Linked DNA regions of Homo sapiens: region 2 is linked to region 1. Evidence: promoter capture Hi-C in human tissues and cell types (Jung and others, 2019). All regions are on one chromosome and are shown on one strand. Each heading gives the region's core, a stretch centred on a gene start or on the middle of the fragment in contact. The rest is flanking DNA. Distances are from core to core; before and after follow the strand shown. Region 1 holds the start of RLBP1 (retinaldehyde binding protein 1). Region 2 overlaps HAPLN3 (hyaluronan and proteoglycan link protein 3).

Region 1 (3,219 bases), core at 401-2,900:
TCCCGCCTGGGTGACAGAGCGAGACTCTGTCCCCTGCCAGACTCCCACAAAAATTTAGTTCTTGGGTCGTATTACCCTATTTATAAAAATTTTTTTTATAGTGAGACCCAATCTCTAGCATTACCCCATTTCGAATGCTGAAAAGCTACATGGGGCTAGCGGCTACTATATAAGACAGCATAGGACTAGACCACCAGGAAGAAGAATGACATAAATGAAGGATCCCCAGCTCCACAGAGGACTTGGGACAGAAACAGCCCAAGACCCAGACAGCAGCCAGAGTAGGAGCCCAGGGAAAGGGCTTTTGGAAACAAAGAGCTCAAGGTGACTCAAATGCACCCCAAGATCTAAGCACCAGGCATTGCAGCCTGCTCTGGAGGAAGGGGTCGGCAGGAGATGGGGTGGTGGGAAGAAATCCCAAACCTGCCAAAGTAGGAATGGGTGGAAAAGCAAGAACTATGTCCAGGGAAAATAAAAAAGCACTTCTGGGGTTGGATTCTGGAGAGCGACCTGTGCAGGGGAGCTTGACCTTCTCCTGGGCACCTCTAGGAGGCAAAACCAGGACCAAGGGTGGTCATTATAGGAAGCTGCTTGGGGCTCAAACCAACAATGAGGTTTTAAACAAGGAGAGCTCCCCAGTAATGGAAACAGGGAGCTTCCCGCCCTTGGAATCCTAGACAGAAAATGTTCTACAGGAATTACCTCCTCCTCATCCAGTGGAATAGCAAAACAGAGGCTGGGAAGTTACCTGTTGAGAGGCTGCAGAGGGGTTTCTTCCTGTACAAAGGATTGAATAATAAGTTCCCTCCAGTTAGGCACCTATTGATACTGTATTTGGAGTAACTGACCTTTCCAGAGGACTTATTGTCAGGCAGCTAAACCCCTGAACTAAGCACTTTACTGCCATTTCATCCGCACTAAAGTCATGAGCCTGGTCCTCTAGTTTTCTACACTTCTTAGAGGAGGAAACTGAGCCGATGAGTTTTGAAGTCATGTTTCCCGGCCAGAAGATGCTCGAGCGAGGCTTTACAGGCGGGCAGTCTGGTTCCAGGGCATGCCACTGCACCACACTGCCCAGAAGGAGGCTCAGCCTGTCTTGTCCTCTCCCTGCTTGGCCTTAACCAGCCACATTTCTCAACTGACCCCACTCACTGCAGAGGTGAAAACTACCATGCCAGGTCCTGCTGGCTGGGGGAGGGGTGGGCAATAGGCCTGGATTTGCCAGAGCTGCCACTGTAGATGTAGTCATATTTACGATTTCCCTTCACCTCTTATTACCCTGGTGGTGGTGGTGGGGGGGGGGGGGTGCTCTCTCAGCAACCCCACCCCGGGATCTTGAGGAGAAAGAGGGCAGAGAAAAGAGGGAATGGGACTGGCCCAGATCCCAGCCCCACAGCCGGGCTTCCACATGGCCGAGCAGGAACTCCAGAGCAGGAGCACACAAAGGAGGGCTTTGATGCGCCTCCAGCCAGGCCCAGGCCTCTCCCCTCTCCCCTTTCTCTCTGGGTCTTCCTTTGCCCCACTGAGGGCCTCCTGTGAGCCCGATTTAACGGAAACTGTGGGCGGTGAGAAGTTCCTTATGACACACTAATCCCAACCTGCTGACCGGACCACGCCTCCAGCGGAGGGAACCTCTAGAGCTCCAGGACATTCAGGTACCAGGTAGCCCCAAGGAGGAGCTGCCGACCTGGCAGGTAAGTCAATACCTGGGGCTTGCCTGGGCCAGGGAGCCCAGGACTGGGGTGAGGACTCAGGGGAGCAGGGAGACCACGTCCCAAGATGCCTGTAAAACTGAAACCACCTGGCCATTCTCCAGGTTGAGCCAGACCAATTTGATGGCAGATTTAGCAAATAAAAATACAGGACACCCAGTTAAATGTGAATTTCAGATGAACAGCAAATACTTTTTTAGTATTAAAAAAGTTCACATTTAGGCTCACGCCTGTAATCCCAGCACTTTGGGAGGCCGAGGCAGGCAGATCACCTGAGGTCAGGAGTTCGAGACCAGCCTGGCCAACATGGTGAAACCCCATCTCCACTAAAAATACCAAAAATTAGCCAGGCGTGCTGGTGGGCACCTGTAGTTCCAGCTACTCAGGAGGCTAAGGCAGGAGAATTGCTTGAACCTGGGAGGCAGAGGTTGCAGTGAGCTGAGATCGCACCATTGCACTCTAGCCTGGGCGACAAGAACAAAACTCCATCTCAAAAAAAAAAAAAAAAAAAAAGTTCACATTTAACTGGGCATTCTGTATTTAATTGGTAATCTGAGATGGCAGGGAACAGCATCAGCATGGTGTGAGGGATAGGCATTTTTTCATTGTGTACAGCTTGTAAATCAGTATTTTTAAAACTCAAAGTTAATGGCTTGGGCATATTTAGAAAAGAGTTGCCGCACGGACTTGAACCCTGTATTCCTAAAATCTAGGATCTTGTTCTGATGGTCTGCACAACTGGCTGGGGGTGTCCAGCCACTGTCCCTCTTGCCTGGGCTCCCCAGGGCAGTTCTGTCAGCCTCTCCATTTCCATTCCTGTTCCAGCAAAACCCAACTGATAGCACAGCAGCATTTCAGCCTGTCTACCTCTGTGCCCACATACCTGGATGTCTACCAGCCAGAAAGGTGGCTTAGATTTGGTTCCTGTGGGTGGATTATGGCCCCCAGAACTTCCCTGTGCTTGCTGGGGGTGTGGAGTGGAAAGAGCAGGAAATGGGGGACCCTCCGATACTCTATGGGGGTCCTCCAAGTCTCTTTGTGCAAGTTAGGGTAATAATCAATATGGAGCTAAGAAAGAGAAGGGGAACTATGCTTTAGAACAGGACACTGTGCCAGGAGCATTGCAGAAATTATATGGTTTTCACGACAGTTCTTTTTGGTAGGTACTGTTATTATCCTCAGTTTGCAGATGAGGAAACTGAGACCCAGAAAGGTTAAATAACTTGCTAGGGTCACACAAGTCATAACTGACAAAGCCTGATTCAAACCCAGGTCTCCCTAACCTTTAAGGTTTCTATGACGCCAGCTCTCCTAGGGAGTTTGTCTTCAGATGTCTTGGCTCTAGGTGTCAAAAAAAGACTTGGTGTCAGGCAGGCATAGGTTCAAGTCCCAACTCTGTCACTTACCAACTGTGACTAGGTGATTGAACTGACCATGGAACCTGGTCACATGCAGGAGCAGGATGGTGAAGGGTTCTTGAAGGCACTTAGGCAGGACATTTAGGCAG
Region 2 (3,219 bases), core at 206-2,705, 340 kb after region 1:
ACACGTAGAGGCTGCAAGCTGACTGTCAGGGCCCATGGGCTTCTCTGCCGCCCAACCTGGCTTTGCCCAGGTGCCTGGCTTCCGGCCCTGGTGAGATCGGAGGTTTGGGGCTCAGGCTGTTCCTGGGTCCTTGGCCACACGGAGGAGATTCCAAAGTGTCCTTCCCAGACCCCTAGGGTCACCTCCACTCCCTAAGGTTTCATTGACTTGGTAGAGACTACATCTCAGAAGTTTAAAAACTTTTTATTAGAGTAAAATTTCAAACACGAACATATCTTTTCAGGGCCTGTGGCCTCTATCAGACCCTGACCACAAGGAGAGAAACCGCCTGCCCCAGACCTCCCTGCCCTTGAGCCTCCTTTATGGAAGGCCCTTCCCCAACCCTCTCCCCACGGCCTCTAGGGCCTCTCCTTCTCCTGAAAATCATCTGCCACACGTGGAAAGTTCCTTGCATTTTCCTAGGAAATTTCCACATTCATAATAACGTAGACGATCGGGTCCCAGCTAACGAGTGGGGAGCTGGGAGTCAAACCTGGCCCCTAGAGCCCAAAGCCCGGGCCTGTCTGGAGAAGATGGCACAGCCTCACTGGGGGTCTGGCGACAGCCTTGCGGATTAGGTTGGGGACATTGTTGGGGACATTAATGGACTAATTAATTACCTTAACTCATGGATGTTTTCTGAGTACTGCTGTGAACCAGCTGAGTCCCAGGAGAGAGGCGGCAACGGACAGGAGGTCAGAGGTTTGCTGAGTTTTTCTGAGGGATGGTGTATGTGTGTGTGTTGCAGGCAGCACATGTCCCAGTGAAGGTGGGAGGAGAGCGGGGTGTCCAGCCAGCTGGGCCCCTGGCCACCCCCTAAGCTCCTCTTTCCTTCCCCTGCAGGTGTGGTCTTTCCTTACCAGTCCCCCAACGGGCGCTACCAGTTCAACTTCCACGAGGGCCAGCAGGTCTGTGCAGAGCAGGCTGCGGTGGTGGCCTCCTTTGAGCAGCTCTTCCGGGCCTGGGAGGAGGGCCTGGACTGGTGCAACGCGGGCTGGCTGCAGGATGCCACGGTGCAGTACCCCATCATGTTGCCCCGGCAGCCCTGCGGTGGCCCGGGCCTGGCACCTGGCGTGCGAAGCTACGGCCCCCGCCACCGCCGCCTGCACCGCTATGATGTATTCTGCTTCGCTACTGCCCTCAAGGGTGAGTGGAATAGCCAAGCGCGGGCCTGTGGGTTTGGTGGCCACCTGGGACCTGTGAGAGGGCAGCTTCTGGGGAGCTCTGGCCCCCTCTGCTGGCTCTGCTGGTACTGCCACCTGGAGGCCAAGAGCACCAGCCACCCTAGAAGCAGCATCTGGTTGAGTTTTGAGTGCTTTGCTGCTGCTGCGTTATGCAGGGCATAAATCATTGGTTTCTTCATTCATCAAATGTTTACTGAGTGCCTACCATATGCTGGGGCCTAGACTAGGCTCTCGGGAATCACAGACGAATAAAACACAGCCTGTCTTCACAAAGCAGCTCATTTCGTAGGAAGATGAACAAGTAAAAACAGAAACTGGTTCAGTGTCATATGCCAAGCCCTTGGAAAAGTGTCTGACACATAGTAGGTGTTCAGTAAATGACCGAATGGGCAAGAGACTCTGACTGGTCCAGCCTAGGTGGGGTGCCCACCCACCTAAATAGGGAAGGGTGGTGGGGGAGTGCAGACATGTCTGGAGGGACCTGGGTTCTATGGCAGGTGGGACAGAGCTCTCTGGGACAGGGTGAAGATTAGAAAGTGTTCTCTGCAGATGCCTGCAGTATGGTAGCTCCCTGGGCTCAGACGGGTCTTTGGGGCTGGCATCTCTGCAGACCCCGCTGTGCTCTCTGGCTGCCCCCTGCGCTGTACGGCACTCACGCCCCCTTTCCCCCAGGGCGGGTGTACTACCTGGAGCACCCTGAGAAGCTGACGCTGACAGAGGCAAGGGAGGCCTGCCAGGAAGATGATGCCACGATCGCCAAGGTGGGACAGCTCTTTGCCGCCTGGAAGTTCCATGGCCTGGACCGCTGCGACGCTGGCTGGCTGGCAGATGGTAGCGTCCGCTACCCTGTGGTTCACCCGCATCCTAACTGTGGGCCCCCAGAGCCTGGGGTCCGAAGCTTTGGCTTCCCCGACCCGCAGAGCCGCTTGTACGGTGTTTACTGCTACCGCCAGCACTAGGACCTGGGGCCCTCCCCTGCCGCATTCCCTCACTGGCTGTGTATTTATTGAGTGGTTCGTTTTCCCTTGTGGGTTGGAGCCATTTTAACTGTTTTTATACTTCTCAATTTAAATTTTCTTTAAACATTTTTTTACTATTTTTTGTAAAGCAAACAGAACCCAATGCCTCCCTTTGCTCCTGGATGCCCCACTCCAGGAATCATGCTTGCTCCCCTGGGCCATTTGCGGTTTTGTGGGCTTCTGGAGGGTTCCCCGCCATCCAGGCTGGTCTCCCTCCCTTAAGGAGGTTGGTGCCCAGAGTGGGCGGTGGCCTGTCTAGAATGCCGCCGGGAGTCCGGGCATGGTGGGCACAGTTCTCCCTGCCCCTCAGCCTGGGGGAAGAAGAGGGCCTCGGGGGCCTCCGGAGCTGGGCTTTGGGCCTCTCCTGCCCACCTCTACTTCTCTGTGAAGCCGCTGACCCCAGTCTGCCCACTGAGGGGCTAGGGCTGGAAGCCAGTTCTAGGCTTCCAGGCGAAAGCTGAGGGAAGGAAGAAACTCCCCTCCCCGTTCCCCTTCCCCTCTCGGTTCCAAAGAATCTGTTTTGTTGTCATTTGTTTCTCCTGTTTCCCTGTGTGGGGAGGGGCCCTCAGGTGTGTGTACTTTGGACAATAAATGGTGCTATGACTGCCTTCCGCCATCCCCAGCCCTTTTCTGTGTCTCCATCTCGTTCGGTCTCAGGGCGCAGCCCCCTGCCTGGTGGGTGTGGTGGGGGCAGTTCTAGCCCAGGCTTCATAGGTTGGCTGGGTCAGGTCCCTGGGGTGAACAGGGAACTCTGCGGGCTGGTTCTAGCCTTGCCTGCTCAATGGTTCACCCGGTCCTGGGTGCTGGCCTAGTGGCAGAGGACCTGGCTTCTGTCTTCACCATCCCCACCCCTTGGCAGTGCGTCTGTCTGTGTGAGGCTCAGCAGAAGAGCCAGAGGTGTCTGTCAGAAGACAGAGGAGGCTACGCCCTCCAGAGGACCTCAGAGGCCAGGGATCTAGGGGCCAGTGCTCCGTGTG

What was found. The method cuts DNA at HindIII sites, captures the fragments that hold promoters and counts their contacts. A contact is called where the count stands out against the background at its distance.
Region 2: a fragment that was not itself captured here is called in contact with the fragment with the promoter of RLBP1 in region 1 in 2 of the 25 tissues and cell types used here (H1 embryonic stem cells and stomach).

Annotation. Positions count from the first base shown.
Region 1 is chr15:89,220,010-89,223,228 of GRCh38, reverse strand. It overlaps RLBP1 (retinaldehyde binding protein 1), which reads left to right and starts at 1,650. Exons shown (of 9, transcript NM_000326.5): 1 at 1,650-1,694. The HindIII fragment of the contact is 12,253 bases long and covers 1-3,219 here.
Region 2 is chr15:88,876,933-88,880,151 of GRCh38, reverse strand. HAPLN3 (hyaluronan and proteoglycan link protein 3) reads left to right here. Exons shown (of 5, transcript NM_178232.4): 4 at 883-1,185; 5 at 1,896-2,858. The coding sequence ends at 2,182. Among named protein-coding and RNA genes, the nearest start is that of HAPLN3, 17 kb to the left of the region's middle. RefSeq lists an enhancer at 1,027-1,602. The HindIII fragment of the contact is 7,012 bases long and covers 1-3,219 here.